Linked DNA regions of Homo sapiens: region 1 is linked to region 2. The links are contacts of gene promoters, found by promoter capture Hi-C in blood cells and fetal thymus (Javierre and others, 2016). All regions are on one chromosome and are shown on one strand. The core of a region is centred on a gene start or on the middle of the fragment in contact, and the rest is flanking DNA. Distances in the headings are between cores, read along the strand shown.

The links. Contacts are between HindIII fragments. The CHiCAGO score rates a contact against its expected background, and 5 or more counts as called.
Region 1: a contact is called between a fragment that was not itself captured here and the fragment with the promoter of TALDO1 in region 2, in 3 of 17 cell types (naive B cells, total B cells and total CD4 T cells). The highest score is 5.4, in naive B cells.

What each region holds. Positions count from the first base shown.
Region 1 is chr11:386,330-392,279 of GRCh38, reverse strand. No RefSeq gene overlaps it. Among named protein-coding and RNA genes, the nearest start is that of PKP3, 4.9 kb to the left of the region's middle. The HindIII fragment of the contact is 255 bases long and covers 4,149-4,403 here.
Region 2 is chr11:743,462-749,536 of GRCh38, reverse strand. It overlaps TALDO1 (transaldolase 1), which reads right to left and starts at 2,073. Exons shown (of 8, transcript NM_006755.2): 1 at 1,959-2,073. The coding sequence starts at 2,055. LOC105376509 (a long non-coding RNA gene) reads right to left here. Exons shown (of 3, transcript XR_930962.3): 3 at 2,575-2,788. RefSeq lists silencers at 1,473-1,562, 1,663-1,952, 2,013-2,612 and enhancers at 1,792-2,440, 2,743-2,802, 2,441-3,089, 5,168-5,866, 5,867-6,075. The HindIII fragment of the contact is 13,110 bases long and covers 1-5,663 here.

The DNA of each region.
Region 1 (5,950 bases), core at 3,027-5,526, 360 kb after region 2:
TGGAGCTATGATGGGAACGCCGGTACCCCGCGGCCTGCAGGGCCCCCAGGGCCGACTCTGCCCACCTTCCCTCCTCCCCTTGGCAGAGAGGGCTGTGGGTGCCCCCCCCCAGAGCTGCGGCGCCTCCCTGAGGATGCGTGGTGCCCGCCAGGCACAGTTTTGGCAAAGCCAGGAATCTGGGGTGCACCTTCCCTCACTGCGGCCGGGCCAGACGGATGGCGATGCCTGCTAGGCCACCGCTGCAGCTTCCAGCTCCAGGCTCGGCGGAGTCTCATCTGATCCCTGTGACCAGCCCTGAGGGTCGCACTCTCCCTGGAGCCAGCTCCTGACACAGGAGCCCTGGAGGGGGGCTTGACGGTAGGCTTCCTGGAGGAAGCGGTTGTCTGTGGGGCCCGGAATCTGCACGGAGCCTCGGGCCGCTTGGGTGCACAATCAGGTTGAGAGCCTGGAACCTGAGGGCCTCGAAGGGTGAGTGAGCGCTGCTCTTAGATGGGTCCTGGGTGGGGTGTGGCCTGTCAGTCACCTCCCAAGAGGCGGTGGGAGAGGGCGCAGGAGGGCTTCGGGGCATGGTGGGCTCAGCGTGGGGGGCACGGGAGGCGCTCACAGAGAAGGTCGGCTGGGCCCAGGTCGTGGGCAGAGCTGCCAGGTGCGTGCCCGGAGTTGTGGGAGGGCACAGAAGACAAACCTCCAGGGCAGAGCCTGCGTGGGTGGAGGGGGTTGGGGTGGTCGTCTTAAGGAGCAGAAGGGGGAGGATCTGGGGAGAAAGGTGTGAGGACGTTGGAAGCAAAATATAGTCAAAGCCGAATTCAGGAGTGAGCCGGTGCACAGAGAGGCTTGGGAGGCTGCCTCAGGTCCCACCGCCTGCAGGGGCGGGGTTCGGAGTGCATTAGGGGAGCCCCTTGGTGGTTGATGGACCCGGCGTGGGGGCACAGCTCACCCAGAGGCAAGCGTCCTGGCGCTTCCTGTTGGCGCCCACGCTTGCAAACCTTCTGACTTGGGCTCCAGCCAAGTCCAGCCCCTCCACGGAGCCTGCCCGGCTGCCCATGGGCACCACCCCTCACCTTGTGGAGTGTGGCCCCTGCCCCGCGCCTGTGGCTGGGGCAGCTCTGAGGTCTCTGGCCTTGGTCCTTGGCATGGAAAGTAGCTGAGGGGTATGGCCCCTGTAGGCTCTTGGGGGGGACACCTTTCATCTGCACACACCCCGTCCACTGCCGGCCTGTTGGTCAGTCTGTCCATCTGTCCGTCCACTACTTGTTCGTTCATCAGACGAGTCCCGGGCTCTTGCTATGCCCCCGGCGCTCCTCTGGGGAAGGGGGCGTCTGTCTGAGGCAGGCGGGGCATCTCCCGGGGGTTCTCCTGGGGTCTGGCCTCAGGACCCCGGCGCTCCTCTGGGGAAGGGGGCGTCTGTCTGAGGCAGGCGGGGCATCTCCCGGGGGTTCTCCTGGGGTCTGGCCTCAGGACCCCGGCGCTCCTCTGGGGAAGGGGGCGTCTGTCTGAGGCAGGCGGGGCATCTCCCGGGGGTTCTCCTGGGGTCTGGCCTCAGGACCCCGGCGCTCCTCTGGGGAAGGGGGCGTCTGTCTGAGGCAGGCGGGGCATCTCCCGGGGGTTCTCCTGGGGTCTGGCCTCAGGACCCCGGCGCTCCTCTGGGGAAGGGGGCGTCTGTCTGAGGCAGGCGGGGCATCTCCCGGGGGTTCTCCTGGGGTCTGGCCTCAGGACCCCGGCGCTCCTCTGGGGAAGGGGGCGTCTGTCTGAGGCAGGCGGGGCATCTCCCGGGGGTTCTCCTGGGGTCTGGCCTCAGGACGGTGTGTGGACCCATTCAGTTAGCCCCAAGTGTTCCTCACCAAATTGCAGCTGCTAACAGGTGGCGGCCGCTCCTGTTGCTTTCCTGTTATAAACAGGTGGCGCTGTGGGGCCAGGTCCTCCTCAAACAAGGCGGAGGAGGGAAGTCCTGGGAATCGGGGGCCTGGCCTAAGAAGGTGCCTTCTGAAAGGAAAAAAGCTAACCCCTCCATGGAGAGGTCCCTGTATTCACAAGACTGTGTTGATTCCTGACATGGTGGAGGAAGGAGGCCTGAGATGCCACTCACAGTTGTGCCAAGAGATGGGGAGGGGGGCCCAGATTGGAGAGGAGAACTCTGGAGTCCAGGACGAGGTCCATCCTCCTTCCCTTGACCCCTACAATCCCTGGGGTTCCTGGATGGCAATGGTGGTCTGGACGACTGTAGCTGGGGAGAGGAGGCTGGGGACCCATCAGTCCTGCTGTACCATTTGGGAGACTGGCCCGAGGTCCGGCAACCCACGTCTCCAGGGATGGTCTGTCCTCCAGCGGTCCCCTGTGGGCGGAGGATGACCCAGGTGCCCAGGCAAGAGACTGAAGGCACAAACTGTTTCAGTATAATAAAGAAAATAGAATAAGAATAGTCATAATACAAATTAGATATAGAGATGCTCATGGACAATTATCAATCATTATTATAAACATTATTAGTCATTAGCTTTTAATATTACTCTTTGTTCCATTACTATATAACCTAGGAATAAGCGGTGGGTATAGGGTCAGGTGCTGAAGGGACGTTGTGAGAAGTGACCTAGAAGGCAAGAGGTGAGCCCTCTGTCACGCCAACATAAGGGCCGCTTGAGGGCTCCTTGGTCAAGCGGTAACGCGAGTGCCTGGGAAGGCACCCGTTCCTTAGCCGACCGCGAAAGGGAGTCTCCTTTCCTTGGAGAGGTCGGGGAACACTCTGCTCCACCAGCTTCTTGTGGGAGGCTGGATATTCTCCAGGCCTGGCCCGCAGTCATCCGGAGGCCTAACCCCCTCCCTGTGGTGCTTGAATGATCACACTCCTTGTCCACTTTCATGCTCCTCCCGTACTCCTGGTTCCTCTTTGAAGTTCGTAGTAGATAGCGGTAGAAGAAATAGTGAAAGTCTTAAAGTCTTTGATCGTTCTTATAACTGCATAGAAGACAACACTGATGTATGCTGCCTTTCCTCTCTACTTCGGCTACCTAAGAGGGAAGGGTCACCGTAAGGTGACTTGCTTCACCTTATCACTTAGAAGATTCACCCTCCTTATCCTGCCCCCTTGTCTTGTATGCAATAAATATCAGCGCGCCCAGCCGTTCAGGGCACTACTGGTCTCCGCGTCTTGATGGTAGTGGTCCCCCAGGCCCAGCTGCTTTCTCTTTATCTCTTTGTCTTGTGCCTTTATTTATTACAATCTCTGGTCTCCGCACATGGGGAGAACACCCACTAAGCCCCGTAGGGCTGGACCCTACAGTCCCCAAGGCAAACTGGACAGGGTCAAGGTGGCCTCCCTGCACTGTCTGGAAAGCCCCTCCTGAAGGACCCTCCTCCCTGCACTGTCTGGAAAGCCCCTCCTGAAGGACCCTCCTCCCAGGACTGTCTGGAAAGCCTCCTGAAGGACCCTCCTCCCTGCACTGTGTGGAAACCCTCCTGAAGGACCCTCCTCCCTGCACTGTGTGGAAACCCTCCTGAAGGACCCTCCTCCCTGCACTGTGTGGAAACCCTCATGAAGGACCCTCCTCCCTGCACTGTCTGGAAACCCTCCTGTGGGGCCCTAGCCCAACACATTTGCAGCAGTCACAGGTGTATCTAGGGATCCTGGGGTCCATGAGCCCACAGGGCAGCTGTTAAGAGCCTTTGCCTTCTTCCTATATCTCCTCTCTCTTTTCTGGACTTCCTCCCGGTTCCCACTGGAAAAAACTGAGGTGGCCCCTCCCAGGATGCCCCCAAAGTACCATCTGGTCCCACAGCCCATTCCCGCATCCTCCTTCTGACATCAGGGGCCGCCTGTGCAATGAACTCATCTCCTCATCCCCTAGGACCAGCCGTTCATTGACTGAGTCAGGAGACAGAGAGGCACACTTCACCAAGGCCCCTGCCATCCCCCAGGAAGGCAGTGGGGCCAATCCCTGCTCTACCATGGACAGCCTGGTGCAATCAAGAGGCCCAGCCCCTTTCTCTCATAAGCCCTCCAGCCAAGTGCAATGAGAAGCCCAGTCCCATTCCCTCACAAGCCCTCCAGTATCACATCTGAAAGTGTTTCATCCTCCATTCTCCCATTTTATCACTGGGGTCCCATTTAGGGTCCTCCAATGGTACTGCTATTCATCCAATTGGATAAAGCTTCTCTTCTTCCCTGGCCCTATATAAGATATACAGCTCATCCCCCAAATTCTCTGCCGCTTGCGGGGTGGCCTGCTTTTCAGCAGTCAGGGTTTGATTCAGAAGTAACATGATATCCTTCCAGGAGAGCTCAAATACTTGGGTTAAGTTCTGGAAAGCCTCCATGTATCTGTCAGGGCCATCTGAAAACTTGCCAAGATCCCCCTTAATTTGACTCAGAATGGCCTAAAATGAGGATTTCTAGGCTGGGGAAAGCTTGAGAGAGAACCTGAGTAGGGAGGAGTGAAGGGTTTGATTCCTCCACTGGAGGTGCCTCTGGGGTTTGCTTCTCTATTTCCCTGGGATTGCCTCTTGCAGCCTCTCCTGAGATGGCCACCAGGAGGGCTGGATCAATCCTACAGTAGAGGCAAAGGTCCAAGTTACCCTGCAAGGCAAAGAAAGCCTGCACACACGAGGCCTGGGATCACTGGCCCTCACATTTACAGAAAAGCTTCCTCCCAAGACCATGCTTCCCTTCTGTGTCTTACACTTACAGAAAAGCTTCCTTCCTGAGACCATGCTTCTCTTCTGGGTCTCACGTTTACAGAAAAGCTTCCTTCCTGAGACCATGCTTCTTTTCTGGGTCTCAAGGTGCTTGGCACCAAGTTGGCGGCCAAGGAAATAACAAGAACATTTTTGCCACAAATTTACATACAGATACCAAGGCACACTTTACTTCGTCTGTGCTATTCTTAACCTTCCATTTTATAGTTTTGATGACTCAGTCAAATGCTCATTCTACCCAGTAATATTTCTGGTTTGCAACAACATCCTTAACATTTAACATTGTACATAAAGAAGAGATAGGAACCATGACAGCCACAAAAGAAAGACAGAAAAGAATGATAGGAAAGAGTGGAGGTCTTTGTGCCAACACCCTCATGGGAGGCTGGGGACTGGAGTCAGTCCAGGGGCCTTTGGATAACTCCAAGGGGTAACCTCAGCCAAATACCCCCAGTTGCTCTAGGACCTCCTTCTGGTCCCACGTGACAGCTAGACCTCCATGAAGGAAAACTGGGTTGGAACAAAGCCAACATTCCCAATACCTGAGGGTGATGGGGGCTTGACAGTGTCCTCCCCAGCAAGCCTGGCCTCCATGTGTTGAGTCTGGTGCTTGGAGACTAGTCGTCACTTTTAACTAATTGACAGAGGCCTGGTATTTTTCTTTCATTTTAGCTGTTGAGTTTAAGGACCACGAAGAAAGGACAGAAAGAGAAGATCCACTTTTACTTACCCTTGTGCAGATCCCAGACGAGCCCCCAAACATGTTGTGGGATATTTGGGGTGTTGCTTTTCTGGCCAGAAACCTCTGTGGCCAGGAGCACCTTTGCCTGAGTTCTTGTCCTGTGTCCAGGAAGAATGAGGTACACAGACAAGTGGAGGGTGAGCAAGACGAAGAGGAGCTTTATTAAGTGTCAGAACGGCTCAGAGGCTCTCAGCAGAGAGGAGGCTGGGAGTGAGTGGCTCCTCTCTGCAGGAAGGTCGTCCCAACGAGTGTTCAGCTCTCAGCAGAGAGGGCAGCTCCTCTCTGCAGTTGGTCGACCCAATGCCTGCAGCTATCAGCAGAGAGGGTAACTCCTCTCTGCAGTTGGTTGACCCAAGGCCTGCAATGCTCAGCAAAGAGGAGGCCCTAGTGAGGGTAGCTCCTTTCTGCAGCTGGTCATCCCGTCGTCTCTCTGTCCTCTTCTCCACTCTGGCTGAACCCAGGGCTTTTATGGGCCTCAGAGGGGAGGAAATTCATGCCAACTGGTGCATGGGCAGCCAT
Region 2 (6,075 bases), core at 824-3,323:
ACAAACCCAACAGACTATTTTACAACTATATAACATTTATGAACATATACTATCAATGAATGTATTTTTTTGTTAATATTCATTAAAAAAAAATGTCACAACTTGGGTTTAGAAGATTTTTTTTTTTTTTTTTTTGAGACGGAGTTTTGCTCTGTCGCCCAGGCTGGAGTGCAGTGGTGTGATCTTGGCTCACTGCAACCTCCGCCTTCTGGGTTCAGCAATTCTCCTGCCTCAGCCTCCCAAGTAGCTGGGATTACAAGCATGCAACACCGCACCCAGCTAATTTTTGTATTTTTAGTAGAGACGGGGTTTCACCATGTTGGTCAGGCTGGTCTCGAACTCCTGACCTCGTGATCCACCTGCCTCAACCTCCCAAAGTGCTGGGATTACAGGCGTGAGCCACCTCGCTGGGCCAGAAGTTTTCTTAAAAAACAATACAAAACAAAACCAGAAACCCAGGACTCCCCAGCCCTCCTGTGGGTGTGGGTTTAGGAAAATCCATCTTTATTGGCCCTGCACTGCCAAGTGTAATGGACCTGACACTCCGCACCAGCTCTGCCCTAACTGGTGAGGGCCAGTAAGGAACAATACAGATGAGCGCTCTGTCCACCAGGCAAACTGCAAATTATTCTCAGTGCTAAGAAGGGAAAAAACTGAGCAGCAGAAAAATGTGTAGCCCCTTTTCTGGAGCTTTCTTTCTTATGAAGAGAGGTCTGGACTACAACGGGGGGGCTGTGTGTGTGAGGGATTCACAGCTCTAGCTTTGGATCTCCCAAAGAGGGGTCCGGAGCAGACTGTGGCACCCCAAGCCAGTCACTGAATCCCCATATTTTATGGTTAAGCAGCCAAACATGCCAATTCACTCTCTAGGCTCTGCTAGATAAACAATGCCCTTACTCAGTTACCAAAGAGGAATTAAAGCCTGTTTCTCAAGTCACCATGAGAAAGCAGAAAAGAGAGGAAGTCACTTCCGTATTAGGTGCTCGCAGCATTCATCCATGAAGCGTTTCATGATTTTCTTAAAAAATATTACTTGTTCTCAACAAAACATAGACACAAGGCTCGTCTACTCTGCACTGCAGAGGACAGAAGAGCTAAGTATTAATAAATAATCCTTCTTTGTATTTTCCAAGTTCTCTCCAATGTAAACAACTCAAGCCCAGGAAAATCCAGTATTTAACAGTGTACCAACCCTGTGCTTTCATGGGCACCGGCTTTTACCCACCCGGTGCGTCTGGCGGTGGCTGTCCAGCAGGCCGGGCACCTGCCGCCCACGGAGTTGTCCCACTGGGCACCGCAGGGCTCAAGGGCGATGGCAGCACTGGCAGCTTCTGGTCAGAGCTAGCTGATGTCCCCGCTCTGCAGACATCAGCCCAACAAAATTGCATCTCGCTGACCACAAACTGGCCACGTGGAAGTCAGCTCGAAGCTCTACCCTGAATCTCTCCTGAACTCAAAGGCTCTGAAAGCTGCCTCGACCCATGAAGGTGCACAGAGGGGCTCCCGCGGGCTGCCCACAGCCCGTCCCGGGTGCGGGGTCTGAGGGCGCAGCCGACCCCACCCTGGGCGGAGGGCGAGGCTGGGGCTCCGGCTTCGTGCCCCACGGCTCGCAAGGACCCGTCAGTACCGCCCGCACCGCTGACCCCAGCACCGAGCCCCTCACGGCTGACCCCAGCTCCTCACGGCTGCCCCCGGCCCTGCTCCCTCACGGCCGACCCGGGCCCCGTTCCCCTCACGGTCGCCGCTGGCCCTGCGCCTCTCACGGCCGACCCGGGCCCCGCTCCCCTCACGGCTGTCCCTGGCCCCAACATCCGGCACCTGCGCTCATTCCTCCCGGAACGAGCCGCCCGGGGCACCGCCACCCGGTCCGCGTCCCGGAACGGGAGACCCGGGGAAATCGGGGCGCCGGGGCCTCTGGAGGGCGCTTGCGCCGCGCCCGGGCTCCGCGCCGTCCTCACCGTGGAAGTCGCCCGTGTCGGCCACCACGGTGGTGAACTGCTTGAGCTGGTCCAGCGCGGACTCCATCCTCTGACGCTTCACGGGTGAGCTCGACATAGCAAGACCGAGGGGTCTGCGGCGGCGGCGGCGGCGACGGGACGGGCGCGCGGACGGCCCACAATGCCCCGCGGGCGGCTGCCAATCGGAAAGCGGCGCGGGAGGGCGAGGCCCGCTGGTCCCTGCGCGCCTGGACGAAGCCCCGCCCCCGGGGACGAAGCCCGAGCGCCACTGCCGGCCGCGCACCGCAGCTGCGGATCCTACAGGCTGGGTCTCCCCAGGTCCTCAGCAGCCGCCGCGGACGGGCCCGGGAAAACACCTGCACGACACGGGGCGGCTGGGCCTCGCCTCCTTCCTGCCCCGCGGGACGCACCGGGAGGGCTGGAGGAGATGGACCTGGCCCGGGTGCCGACTCTGCGGGGCTGAACCCGCCAGGGCCGAACCCGGCGATGCAGGATCCATGGTGGGGCCAGGACTGGGGTCGGGGGCCGCTGCAGGAAGCAGGGGAGGGAGCGGCGGGGGACGCCCTGCGGGTGCAGGAGGCAGAGCAGGGGGCGGCTGCAGAGCCCGGGCGCCGGACGCGGCGGGGAACCTGCTTCTGGGAATCTGTTCCCCTGAGTCCTAAGCCCAGAGGTGTCCGGGGGACCGAACGGCGAGGCAGGCGTAGGAGGCCCAGCTGCCCTGCTTCTTACCATCGCTGACTTGCAGAGTTCCTTGTATATTCTGATCAAGTCTCTGTCGCTTGTGTCTGCGTTGCAGACACTGTAACCGCCCCATGGGTTCGCCTTGCCAGCTGCCGGGACAGAGTCTATTGTCAAGACAGGGGAATTGCAATAGAGAAAGCATAATTCACACAGAGCCGATTGTTCGGGAGACCAGAGTTTTATTCCTCAAATCAGTCTCCCCAAAACTCGGGGATCCCAGTATTTAAGAATAATTTGGTGGGTAGGGGGCCAGTGAGTCAGAAGTGCTGACTGGTCAGCTAGGGATGAAATCACAGGGAGTCGAAGCTGTCCGCTTATGCTGAGTCAGTCCCTGGGTAGAGGCCACACAACTGGTTGGCAGGTCCAGGTGGGGCCATCCGGTTGTCAGAAATGCAAAAACCTGAAAAGACTTTTTTTTTTTTTTGAGACGGAATCTCGCCCTTGTTGCCCAGGCTGGAGTGCAGTGGCGCGATCTTGGCTAACTACAACCTCCGCCTCCCGGGTTCGAGCGATTTTCCTGCCTCAGCCTCCCGAGTAGCTGGAATTACAGGCGCTCACCACCACGCCCGGCTAATTTTTGTATTTTTAGTACAGACGGGGTTTCATCATGTTGGCCAGCATGGTCTCGATCTCCTGACCTCGTGATCCGCCCACCTCAGTCTCCCAAAGTGCTGGGATTCCAGGCGTGAGCCACCGCGCCCGGCGGAAAAGACTTCTTAAAAGGCAAATCCTAGGCTGACGCGGTGGCTCAGGCCTGGAATCCCAGCACATTGAAAGGCCAAAGCAGGCGATCACTTGAGGTCAGGAGTTGGAGACCAGCGTGGCCAACATGCAAAACCCCGTCTCTACTAAAAATACAAAATTAGCCAGGCGTGGTGGCACATGGCTGTAATCCCAGCTACTTGGGAGGCTGAGGCAGGAGAATGGCTTGAACCTGGGAGGTGGAGGTTGCAGTGAGCCGAGATTGTCCCTCTGTACACTAACCTGGGCTACAGAACGAGACTCCATTTAAAAAAAAAAAAAAGGCCAACCCTAGGTTCACAGTAGTGTTGATATCTTGGGGAAGTTGCAAATCTTATCTTATGACCTCCAGAATAATGGCTGATAATATTTAGACTTCCAGCCCCTCTCATTCTAACTTGGTGGCTGGTGGCCTTTCATTCATTTTACAAGAACAGTCTAGTTTTGGGGAAGGGCTATTATTTAAACTATAAATTAAATTCCTTCCCAAGACTTGTTTGGCCTATGGCCAGTAATGGACAAGGACCGTTTGAAGGTTAGAAACAAGATGGAATTGGTTAAGTCTGTTATCTTTCACTGTCATAATTTCCTTAGTTATAATTTTGCAAAGGTGGTTTCAATACTTCCTCTCAGCATGTGTTCCCTTTTCATTTTAATAGTGTCTTTAATGAACGTTAGCTTTTTATTTTGATTAAGTTCAATTTATCAAGTTTTAATTTTATATTTACTCCTCTTTTTTGGTATCTTCTCTAAGGAGTCTTTGCTTGCTCCAAAGTGACAAATTTTTTTTTTTTTCTGGTGAGATGGAGATTTACTCTTGTTGCCCAGGCTGGAGTGCAATGGCGCGATCTCAGCTCACCGCATCCTCCGCCTCCCAGGTTCAAGCGATTCTCCTGCCTCAGCCTCCCGAGTAGCTGGGATTACAGGCATGGGCCACCATGCCCGGCTACTTTTGTATTTTTAGTAGAGACGGGGTTTCACCGTGTTGCCCAGGCTGATCTCAAACTCCTGACCTCGTGTTCCACCTGCCTCGGCCTCCCAAAGTGCTGGGATTACAGGTGTTAAGCAACTGCGCCCGGCCAACGCCCAGCTAACTTTTGTATTTTTAGTAGAGACAGAGTTTCACCGTGTTAGCCAGGATGGTCTCAATCTCCTGACCTCGTGATCCGCCCACCCTAGTCTCCCAAAGTGCTGGGATTATAGGCGTGAGTCACCACGCCCAGCCAACAAAAATATTTTTTTTTTTTTTTTTTTTTGAGACGGAGTCTCGCTGTCGCCCAGGCTGGAGTGCAGTGGCGCAATCTCGGCTCACTGCAGGCTCCGCCCCCTGGGGTTCACGCCATTCTCCTGCCTCAGCCTCCCGAGTAGCTGGGATTACAGGCACCCGCCACCTCGCCCGGCTAAATTTTTTGTATTTTTAGTAGAGACGGGGTTTCATCGTGTTAGCCAGGATGGTCTCGATCTCCTGACCTCGTGATCCGCCCGCCTCGGCCTCCCAAAGTGCTGGGATTACAGGCGTGAGCCACCGCGCCCGGCCTCAAAAATATTTTCTTATGATGTCTTGGTTTTCAGCTGTTATGTTAAGAGTCTTTGAGGCCACTCCAGTTTGTTTGTTTTTTTTTTGTTGTTTTTTTTTTTTTGAGACGGAGTCTCCCTCTGTCGCCCAGGCTGGAGTGCAGTGGCACGATCTCGGCTCACTGCAAGCTCCGCCTCCCAGGTTCATGACATTGTCTTGCCTCAGCCTCCCGAGTAGCTGGGACTACAGGCGCCCACTACCACGCCCGGCTAATTTTTTGTATTTTTAGTAGAGACGGGGTTTCACATGAGCCACCGCACAGGGCCCCCTTGATTTTTGTCTCTGTGACCTAGAAGTGGAAGGTAGTTTTTCTCTACCGCGCCTGGCCCCCTTTATTTTTGTCTCCGTGACCTGGATATGGAAAGTAGTTTTTCTCCACCTGTTCCAGCATCTGTTGAGAGGACTTTCTTCTCTCCATTGAAATGCAAAAATAGGAAATATACATCACAGAAGAAGGTATAGAGCAGGTAGCCATCTTTTGTCTTCCCTTGCCACACTGGAAGAACTGTCTTGGGCCACATGTAAAATATACTAACAATAACTGATGAGCTTAAAAAAAATTGCAAATAAAAAATCTCATGTTCTAAGAAAGGTTGCGAATTCGTGTTGGGCCACATGCGGCCTGCAGGCCAAGGGCTGGACAAGCTTGGTGGTATACAGTATTTATTAGGGAAATGCAAATGAAAACCACCATGAGATCTGTCCACATGGATCATAGTGAGAACAAAAGACTGGCAACACCAAGTGCCAGTGAGGACATGGAGCTCCAGGAACACCCATGCGCTGCTGGTGGGAATGAAAGTGGAACAAAGGCTGGGTACGGTGGCTCGCGCCTGTAATCCCAGCACTTTGGGAGGTCGAGACAGGTGATCACCTGTGGTCAGGAGTTCGAGACCAGCCTGGCCAACATGGTGAAACCCCGTCTTTACTAAAAATACAAAAATTAGGCTGGGTGCAGTGGCTCACGCCTGTAATCGCAGCTCTTTGGGAGGCCGGGGCAGGCAGATCACGAGGTCAGGAGATCGAGACTATCCTGGCTAACACAGTGAAACCCTGTCT